Regions from separate parts of the Homo sapiens genome. Here region 1 is linked to region 2. Evidence: promoter capture Hi-C in human tissues and cell types (Jung and others, 2019). All regions are on one chromosome and are shown on one strand. The core of a region is centred on a gene start or on the middle of the fragment in contact, and the rest is flanking DNA. Distances in the headings are between cores, read along the strand shown. Region 1 overlaps CR1 (complement C3b/C4b receptor 1 (Knops blood group)). Region 2 holds the start of C1orf116 (chromosome 1 open reading frame 116).

What was found. The method cuts DNA at HindIII sites, captures the fragments that hold promoters and counts their contacts. A contact is called where the count stands out against the background at its distance.
Region 1: a contact is called between a fragment that was not itself captured here and the fragment with the promoter of C1orf116 in region 2, in 1 of the 25 tissues and cell types used here (spleen).

Annotation. Positions count from the first base shown.
Region 1 is chr1:207,626,722-207,631,925 of GRCh38, reverse strand. It overlaps CR1 (complement C3b/C4b receptor 1 (Knops blood group)), which reads right to left. Exons shown (of 47, transcript NM_000651.6): 46 at 1,305-1,409. Among named protein-coding and RNA genes, the nearest start is that of CR1L, 16 kb to the left of the region's middle. The HindIII fragment of the contact is 5,483 bases long and covers 970-5,204 here.
Region 2 is chr1:207,029,331-207,034,910 of GRCh38, reverse strand. It overlaps C1orf116 (chromosome 1 open reading frame 116), which reads left to right and starts at 2,155. Exons shown (of 4, transcript NM_023938.6): 1 at 2,155-2,332. It also overlaps a transcript of PFKFB2 not described here. The HindIII fragment of the contact is 7,217 bases long and covers 1-5,580 here.

The DNA.
Region 1 (5,204 bases), core at 2,462-4,961, 600 kb before region 2:
AGATTAATGCACAGGTATATGAGAAAGAGGTAGGACATAAAGAAAGGAAATTCAGTAATGATTGTGGTGCTTTTGCTTCTGCTTTCTACAGGACTGGCCTAATTCTGTTCTAGGGCATATGGTGATCTTATTCCTGAAAATGTTCCAAACACCTATGGGTAGGACATTTTAGGATTCTTGGGCATAGCCAAAGTAAGCCAGAGCCAAATAAATTGCTCTGAATTTTAAAGAAAAATGGAGTTTTGAATTTGCAAGAAGCCCGAGAGTCTGAATGCCTGTATTTACTGCATACCCTGAGAATGCAGTAAAGATTTGAACAAAAGAGAGGAGTATCCAATGAGAGAGAGAGGCCTGGGAAGAGGATGGAAAGCCCAGGTTAAAAGGGGAACTAGCCAGTGAGAAATTTCTCATAGTATGATATAGTTCAGGGGTTAGCAAAGTCTTCCACTAAAGGGCCAGATAGTAAATACTTTTGGCTTTTGGGGTCTCTGTTGCAACTACTCAGCTCTGCTGTTGTAGTATAAAAGGGAGCCAGAGACAGTAGACAAACGATTGGGTGTGGCTGTGCCCCAGTAAAACTTTATTCACAAAAACAAGTGGCCAGCTGGATTTGGCTCACAGGTGGTAGTTTTCAGGTCCCTGGTGTACTAGTTACTTTTCAGTTCAGTGATTTCTAATATTGATACATACCACTTTTGATAATGGTATAATTTCCCTTTTCACCCCAAATCTTTAGCAATGTGTACTGCACAACAGCTTGCAGTAAGCCTGCTTTGAATAGGTAGAATGAAAGGTTAGGTATTTAATAAGCCCAAGGGAATGAGGACCAAAAGAAGGAGCAGTCAAAGAGGCCAAATGAAGTAGAGAATTCAGTGGAAGTCAGAAATCAAGGGGGTTGGTGGCTGGGGAGGTAAAGTGAAAGTCTCTAGAGGACATTAAAGTGACTCTGTGCATTTAAGGGAAGCTGGAAGACTTGGAGGTACAAGCAGGCAGCAAATTCTTGGGTTCCACAAGAAAAAAGCATACTACTTCTCAAAGTTTCATAGCATAAATACAGGAAATTATAGGAATGCTTTGAAAAAGTAGTGACTGTGACTGTACTAACTTATAGAGTCATCACCCCAAAACATTGGAAATGACAATAATAATCCAATAAAAAAAAAAGAAGTTTCCAACTCCTGAAGTACTTTCTAAATTCTTTGGTATCAATGACCTACCTAGTGCAATATCATATTCAAGTCCTGTTTCCATTTTTGATATTTGAGTTGTTGAAAACATTTTGAATTCAGTATGTATATAGGTACCTGCTATTTTCTTCATTTGTTTGCAGAGTTCGGGGATGAACGCTGCTGCCTCCTTGAGAATGTAAATGGATAGCCACTTCTTTAGGGTTTTCATGTGCATTATTGCTAATTGGCAGAGAAAAAAATAGAAAAACTGTCTTAATCATTTAAGTATCTGTTTTGAAAGAAATTAGTAATTTGCATTTTGAAATTTAAGGTATTATTTGCCTTAAGTTCCTGATATCTTTGCAAGACGTCTGAAAGGAAAATCATAACCAAATCTCATCTTTTAATACTAAGCAAAAACTTAGATTAGAAAATAATACTAAAATCATCCTATATTTTCTGTCAGAGTACTCTAAATTGTTTATAGGCAGATGTCCATGCCTTAACACATTTCACTATTTCTGACATAATTTTGATTAGTAAATAGGATTTACATCGAGATTTTGACACTTAAGCTGCACAACATGAATGACTTTGCACTGCAGTGTTACACGAGGCTTCCTTTTTCTCCTATAGTGAAGATATGTGTTCTGTTTTCTGTACAAGCAATATCCACGGTTAGGGGAGCAGCAGTAGCTGTCATGAAGGTATTTAAGAACTAACAGTAAAAAGAAATATTTACTCACTTTTTAATATCAGTAATAACAATCATGTGTAAATAATAGCTAACATTTTCTGACATGCATCATAAATGAGGCACTATGTTAAGTAAGGTAGGAACTATTATTATCTCCATTTCACAGGCAAGGAAAATGAAATTTACTGAGGATAAGTATCTTGCTCAGGGTCTCATAGAGAGTGAGTGACTGTGAACACAGGCCTTAGCGGTTGCAAAGCCCTCACCCTCACTTGGTATGGTACACTGCCTCTTTGGGGGTTAATAAACACTTCATCTTTTATCAATGAAATGATAAAACAGTACCAGTACCTGGAGATTTTATGTATGAGTTGGTATTAGGGATTTTAGAATGGAAGCTTGAAGAGTTAACTCACTTCAACATGTACCACTGTTTCCTCATCACTCAGTTATTCTTTACCATCTTATGGAAATTAGAATGACAGCATCATTTGAGAAAAAGAGGCAGACTGCTTCAGGGGGCAGAGTTTTCACAGGACAGGGAAGGCACACTTGAGATCCATGGATGAGGAAGAGTGGAGTGGTATATAGCCAGGTGGTATGACCTTCCAAGGAGTGGTGGTTAAGTGGTAAGATGAGTAGTGTTCTGAAGGTGGTCTTGGGTGATGAGTGGTACATGGGGTTTTGGAGAATATGATCTCGGTGAGTATATGTTGAATGAAGAGCTATTTGGTTAGTTACTGGTGGTTAATGTGAACATAGGAAAATTCAGGGAGACTTCACAGAGGATGGCCTTAAGTATTTTATCATTCTAAACATCACAACAATGGAAACTTTGAAATTTTGACTGTGTACAAGGCTGTTTTGTGTAGAAATGGGAGTGGGTACGAGGCAGTAACAAGAGGCAATAATGGGCTCTGAATGAAGAAGTCTAACCAGTATTATTCCTCACTGATGAGTGCATGACCTATCTTATGACCTATCTTATTTAACATTATCACAAATTATTGTTGTAAATACACAGTGAAATATCAAAACGTGCAGGCGCATATTTTTAACTAGTGAAATAACAAGGCAGTGAGATTAAATCACAGGAAGAACTTGCCAAGTCTGTGTGAAACGCCAGGAAATCTCAATATGGAAAGATGCCCTTAAAGAAATACCTTAATTTTTTATAGCCTAATGACTCAGAATAAAGAGTAAAAAAAGTAGAGATTGCATACGGTTCTCTAGAAAGATACTGGTTCAATATACCAAAGTAGCTAAAACAAACTCAGTAAAATATAGGGAGAAAAAGAATATTGAAAGAAAAAAGGAAAATACTTTAGGTTTGTACTATGTACAGTTCTGGATACTGAATTTCAGTAATATAGAGTCAGATTCAGAAATGGCAACTAACATTGTCAAAATACTAGCACAAAGAGTTCAAGATTTCCAGTTAAATAATCTGGACTAAAGGCCTAATTCCTAACAACTTCCTACTGGCTTTAAACAAGCCACTGAATTTCTTTGAACCTAGAGTGTTTTATGCTTTGGGATAACAATATGATTGGGCCTACCTACCTCACAGAGTTGCTTTGAGGACCAAAGAAGATAATAAATGGTAAATAAACCTATAAATAAACATGTTAACTCTTTTTGTAGATACATTAACCATTTCTACTCTTATTATTAATTTTGACTGCTGTACAAGTAGAGATTAAAAAATCATTAAATAAAAATTGCTTTGGGTGGATATAGGTGGTCCCTGCTCACAGGGGATCATAGTCCAGGGAGCAGGGATGGTGAGGAGAATAGTAGAGACCAAGAAGGCAGGAGATAGTAGTAATAGTGAGTGGAAAGGCCAAGGTGGAGGGTGCAGAGGAAATGGGCAGAGTAATTAGGTATTCTTAATCAGGGAAAGCTGAGGATTGAGAAGGCACATGAAATCAAGTGTGATATCGTTTAAGCATATGTGCTTACCAAATGCAGTGTTGGTACAATGGACTGAATGTTTGTATCTTTCCAAATTTATATGTTGAAAATTTATAGGATCTAATTACTATAGGATCTCAAAGGTGAGACCTTTGAGAAGTAATTAGATCATGAGAGCAGAGCCCTTGTGAATGGGACTAGTGCCCTTAGAAAAGAGACCAGGAGAGCTCCTTTACTCCTTTTCTCTGATTTGAGAACACGGAGAAAAGATTGAAGTCTATTAACTAGAAAGCGATCCCCACCAGACACTGAATTTGCAGTTGCCTTGACCTTGGACTCTCTACCCACTAGAACTATGAGAAAAAAATGCTTGGTTTTTAGAAATGACATAATGTTTTTTAGGGACATGGTCTTACCATATTGCCCAGGCTGGCCTTAAACTCATTGGCTCAAGCAGTACTCCTGCCTCAGCCTCCCAGATAGCTGGGACTATAGGCAGGTACCACTGCACCCAGCTTAAATGCTTATTGAATCCACCCAGTCTATGGAGTTTCTGTTATAACTGCCCAAGTATATATACCAACAGACTGAGACAGTTGGTATATTAGAACAAGGAGCAGCCTTGAAACCTGGAGTAAGTTTAGGACAAGTTAAAGACGCACTGTTCAACTTGGTAGAGAATTACGGCAGAAATTTCCCCTTGTGGTAACACTGTTAGTGGTGTGTAGCTCACTCATTCATTTGATAAATATTTATTGAGACTCTCTTTGTCCCAGGGACAGTTTAGATTTGTTGTGTATCCATTGGTGAAGATAGGACAAAAATCCCCGACTTCATGGAGGGAGAGAGAGAATAAACATGGAATGTAATTATTTAATTAATTATAATAAAAGAGAATAAGGCTATGAAAAAAATAAAGCAGGATAAGAGAGACTAGGAATGTGGGGGTGGGGTCATGTCATCTTTACTAGGATAGTTAAAGTAGACCTCCTTGAGGAGCATTTTAAAGAAGGTGAGATCATTTCTGTGTGTGTATTCCTTCTATTTCTCTATCACTTTAGTTTCTTTTCTTGTTTTATTTTATTTAATTTATTTATTTATGTTTTTCAGATGGAGTTTTGCCTTTGTTGCCCAGGCTGGAGTGCAGTGGCACAATCTCAACTCACTGCAACCTCCACCTCCTGGGTTCAAGCAATTCTCCTGCCTCAGCCTCCTGAGTAGCTGGGACTACAGGCATGTGCCACTACACCAGGCTAATTTTTGTATTTTTAGTAGAGACAGGGTTTTGCCATCTTGGCCAGGCTGATCTCCAACTCCTGACCTCAGGTGACCCACCCGCCTCAGCCTCCCAAAGTGCAGGGATTACAGGCCTGAGCCATCGCACCCAGCCTCATTTTAGTTTCTTAGTAAGTCTTCAGACTGCT
Region 2 (5,580 bases), core at 906-3,405:
ATTCCAGGGAAAACATTTAAGTACATGGAGAATGGAAAAAAGAAAATTTGAAATAGTGATTTATTTCAGCTAGGACATATATGTGTTTGCAGGGAGGGGAGGCTCAAGGCTTGTAAGTAACTTCGACTGTGATGTTTATGTTTTATTTCCTGAACTGGATGTTAGGTACGGTTATGTTTGTTATGTCAGTGTATCTGAAATATTTCATAATTTACAAAAAGAAAAAGTTTTTGAGAGGAAAGGGAGGAAGGGAAAGATGATTTTTGTCTATGTCCCTGCTTCTACCTGGTAAAAGATAGGGGTTCCTCCTAGTTATCCTAATTTTATTATAACTGAAAAACTGTGTCTGTTCACAAATAAGACTGTTGCCTACTATCCTCTTGGAAGTTAATTCTCATAAGTCAATTCATTTTTTTAGCAAATGTTCAAATCACACACCTATGGAGCTGGATCAACTTCATTGACTTCATCCATGGGTGTGACTCTGGTTGCACTGAACTGCTGATTTGGAGATGCCCTTCCTGTTTTGTTAGTATTATGACATCATATATGTTTGAATGACACACCAGGGAAAGAGGTCATAGCCCGAAGTGCTCATTCAGCTGTGATATCCATAGGCTGCTGATAGGGTACTGGGTTATCCCAGGCTTCCTCCAACCTCCTTCCTATCCATTAGTCCTGCTCCACTTCATCTTTACCTTGGCCCCAGGATCACTGCCCTTTTTATTTCCTATCCAACCATGATCACAGAAAGAGAAAAGATGAAAGCCATGTGTCGTCTTGTTATAAAACATATTAATAGCTTTAAGTAGGAAATGAAACAGAAAAGGACGAATCTAATAGCTAGAATTACACTTGCAAATTATCTGTGTATTTCATGATTCCCACTTGAGATTCCTTCCAAAATAGAGGCGGATTGGCATTATGCTGATTCATAGCAACCTTGATGTTATACTGCCTGAATTAAAATCTCTGCCCTGCCTCTTCCTAGCTACATGGCCTTGAAAAAGATTTTTAACCTCCCTGTAAAATTTAGATATTAACAAATGCCTACTTTTTTAAGTTAAAGACTAAATTAAAAGATACATGAAAATGCTCAGCACAATACCTAGCAAATAGCAAGAGCTTAATACATTTTGGCAATTATTGTGTACATTGATTTTAAATTTTCTCCCTGACCTTTTAATGCTAGTAAGTGGAATACCTCAAATCCTGATACCTATCAAGGATAATCTACCTGTAGGAAAAACCAGCTTCCAGGCAAAAATCATATCTGTTAAGAGTGGTCTCTGTACCTGGTGGGAAATTTCTTCCCAAAAATAGTAGATTCTTCTACCTACTCTCTTCTCCCTACGAATGCCAAGTATCAGTCCATGAAAGGAGACAAGAGTTGCTAAACTGGTTGGTAGTTTGTTTTGTTTTTATTTCATAATATGTATTGCCACCTTCCATGAACAGCCAAAAGAGAGCAGAGGACCAAATGACAGAGTGCATGCTCTCTCCTTTCAAGCTGTCCAGTCACTCTTTCATCAGGACACGGACCTCTTAGGGGATGAATGGTTTTATTTCCCCCAGAAATAAATTAGGCCAAGGAGATTGTTGGCAAGCACTGGGGCGAGACTGGCCCAACTACAGCATCCCTAGCCTGGGGACACCTTCTTCAGTGGACATGAATGGAATTGCTAGGCTTATGAGCTAGGATTAGGCTTGGGGAAGAAAGTGACTTTCAACATCTAGAAAAGCTAGCAGCAAAACTGAACACAAATGAGTTTAGCCTAGAGAATTCAGGGGAAAACTAAGCTCCAAGCGGAAGAAGGTAGTTCTAGATGAAAAACCTGTTTCACATAGACCTATGGAAAAGCACACTGCCCAGAGGACTGTCTGCGTTCCTTTATATCAACATTAAATATATATACTATCTCTGCCTACTCCCTCCCTGCCACCTGTCCTTCCAGTCTCAGCCCAAACCGGCTCCTCCTCCTTCCAGCCCTCCTTTTTTAAAGAGCTCTTTATTAGCTCTAAACAGGAAAGGGGAGGGTAGGAGATGATTGGCTAAGAGGGAACAGCACCACCCTGCTCATTCCCCTCCCATTCCCTCCCTGAGGAAACAGCTGGAATGAGAGGTAGGGAGGGGAGGCTAGGATTGGCTGAGTCAGTGGCAGGGTGGGGGCCAGGCAGCACAGATGAAGCATTTACCTATCTAGGTAAGTCAGGAGGAGCTCAAAAGGAGAAGAAAACAGTAGGAGGCAGGGGAAGCAGCCTCTGTCTCCATCTCTGCCCTTTGAAACAAAAGGGTATTTCTTTTCTCTCTTCAGCCCCCAACCCAGTGGAGGTGAGTTAATCACTAACCAACTATTGCTTATCCTATAGCAATAGGAAGGGGTTTCATGGGAAATCAGAGCTACAGGGGAGGGGAGGTGTCCCTCTATACCCCAGCTAGGGAGATTTCCTCTCTGTTCCTCAATTCTCTGAGTCCATTCTGGGATCAGATCAGGTTGGTAGCAACTTGAGATTGTAGTGTTTTTGTGGAGACTGGGGCTGGGAGGCACCTTCTTTTTCATTTATCCCTTTAGGTTGGATAGGCATATTGTGCAAACAACAAGAAAAAGAAAATAGATTTGTTTTGGAAATTTCCATCTCTGAACAATTGAAATTGAGTTGTGATTTTAGAAAAGAACAGTTGAAATAGAGGGAGTCAAAATGGGGGAGAGTATCTTGGTTTTCCATAGCGACTGTAACAGGAAATTCTCCCGTGGCTTTACCAACTCGGTGTCGATCTTTATTTAAATAATGGGTGCAATGTGTGTGTGTGTTTGATCATGCTCATGTGATAATGGAGCTCTCTGTGTACAGGTGTGTTAGGCATGAGCTGTACTAGGTTGTTTGTAAAGGGATATGAGGTTGGGGCACATGGAGAAAACTTCAGCTACCAGCTCATCTTTGGAAAACCCATGGATAATCTAGCTGCAAAGTCAAGTTTATTTGGATTCTACTCAATTAACTTTCTGACTCAGCCTGTTAATAGACACAGAGACTGGCAAACAGAAAGCTACCTGGCTGTGCCGAGCCTCACCCACATGAATATTTCGTGGCTGCATGTCAAGTCTAGTTAGAGTTCCAAGTGGGGCTCAAGCCAAGGTAGTGTGGCAGAGTCCACAGACAGAGAAGCAGACCAGGGTGGTGGCTTTGTTTGTTTTCCTGCAGGTGTCCCAGTTGGCAGTTTGTGTGGCAGATTTACCTGCAGAAGGAAGGCAGATGTAGGAGTCGAGTCAGAGTAGCAAGTTGCCTCTCCATTATCCATCTTGGGGGGTTTAACCCTTTGGTCCCTAACTTTGACTCTTTTCCTCCTGCTGCAGAGAAGAGGGAAGTGGGAAGCCCTCAGTGCCAGGCTCAAGGGCCTGGCACACGCAGCCCTGAGTGAATATATGGGTTTTCCAGTCCTGGCAACTGGAGATTTAGGCTTGAGCTCACCTCACACCACAGAGCCAACACCCCACACTCACAGACTGAGGGCTGCCCTAGATGGTGAATTTAGGAATAAAGACCACTGGCAGTGTCTAACAAAGCTCTGCTATGCAGAGGGTATTTCTACCTGCTCCTTCCCTCAAACACACTGGTGAAAGGGAAGATGATAATGTTGCCTAAACACACACAGAAACTTGCCCATGTGTTCATGGAGACAGATATGCAAACTGTGCAAGTTTTAGTCATTCTGCTATTTTTCTTAGGATATTTTCCAGCCCAAGGCACATTTCTGGGTAGTCAACAAGAAGCAAAGACACCTGGATTGAAAGACAGGAAACCTCTTTGACTAGTAGGCAGAGAGGCAAAGCTCTTGGAGGACATGTGGGGGGTTCGTGGGAGGAGGATGAGAGGGACCTGGGTCTGATTAGAAGGTACAGACAAGCCAACCTGGAATGGAGCTGGAGCCCTCTCCCCACCCCACCATCTCCAGATGCCAGAACTTGAACTGTTCTTTATTTCCTCTCCTCCAAGGCTTGGCAGTATTTAGTATTTTAGTCAGTGGTGTAGTTAATATTTAATGTGTCTTTGGATGGGTGGCCCTGACTATAGGTGCTGCATATTTCTTAACCCATTCCCTCCTCCCGTTAAGTTCCCAAAGAGGTCAAGGGTTAAGATACCAAACTCTCACCTTGAGTGTTTTGTTTGTTTCTCAGTCTTCTTATCAGGGTTTCGATGGCTGCCCTGAAAGAGCCCCAAGGTTCAAGGTTGTGAAGTCGGTGAAAGGAAATGCAGCTTTCACCATTAAGATTCTTTAGGTCAGAAAACTAGGTATGGAGATGAGGTGACAGCGCCTCGCTCAGCTTTGGTTTCAGGTTCAGATTCCTCTGTGCAGGGATTATGTAATCCCTAAAGACATGATCTTCCTTGGCAGTTGGTGTCATTTCTTTACTGTAGAAATATCTGCTGTTGGGGCAATACACTGGTCTGGAAGTATAAAGCTGAAGCAGATGATTTGCAGGGTTTAAGGTATGAAGTAGAAGGAGAAGGGGGTTTTAAGGCTTTTAGTATTTTAGTCAGGGGTGGCTAGTAACCATTCTCGGGGGCATGCCCCTCTTGCATCCAGATAGTCCCTGAAATGCCCTGTGGAGGGCTGCCCTGTATATGCATGTATAGGTCATTCCCTGTTTCCCTTAGGAAGGGCTAGTGGTAAGAGCCATAACTTTCTCACCCGTAAAATGAAGAAAACGTCACATCCTGCCTATGTTTCCAGTTTATGCTGAAGATCGAATTAGCATATCTGAGAGTACTTTGCAAGCTATGGCATGCTGTGTTCTTGTGAAGCAGTGCTTTTCCTACCACTTTTATCTCTTCCAGCTACTTGAAGACATCCTAGGTTCTGAAACAAAAGTGTGATAAGCTTCCCTGGTAGGAAAGAGAGACTAGAAAACCTCTGTAAAGTCTAAAGCATACTTAGAAGCACAAGGGTAGTAATTTTCTCTGAAAGTAAGAGGCAGCATCTGCTCACCCATTCATAGAGAATATGATGTTAATTACAGTGAGTCACTTTAAATATTTACTGCCCTGATTTTACAGAGAAGAAAATTGGAGCCCAAAACTAGACCCTTAGATCTACATTGACTTTTTGACAACAATGCCTTTGTCTTATACAGTTTTGTAACACCAGCGCCTATTATTAGGTGCTCATAAATGTTAGTTTAACTGAAAACATTGCCCAAATTTCACTGAGCCATATATTATCCAGGAAATTAAGTATTTAAGTAAAAGCTGACAGTTATAGGTTAGAAACCAAGAAGAAGCCTTCCAAAAGCTCAACCTAATAGACCCTAGAACAGATGGCAAGTTCATTCATTCGGCATTTTTTGAGTGTTTTCTGTGTGCCTAGACTCACAGAGATGGAGCTCCTTTGCTATAGTGGCCTCAACCCTACACAATGTTAGGAATGGGTTAGTCCTCCCTGAACTTGGGCATCATTCATGGAGTGGGTAGCTGAGATGACTGAACTTCATCCACATGATTTCTCATGTTCCTGTTTCTTTGAGCTTCTGGGTATTGGGGAGCTAACCTCATGAAGAAACCCTAAGAGCTTCCTCACCC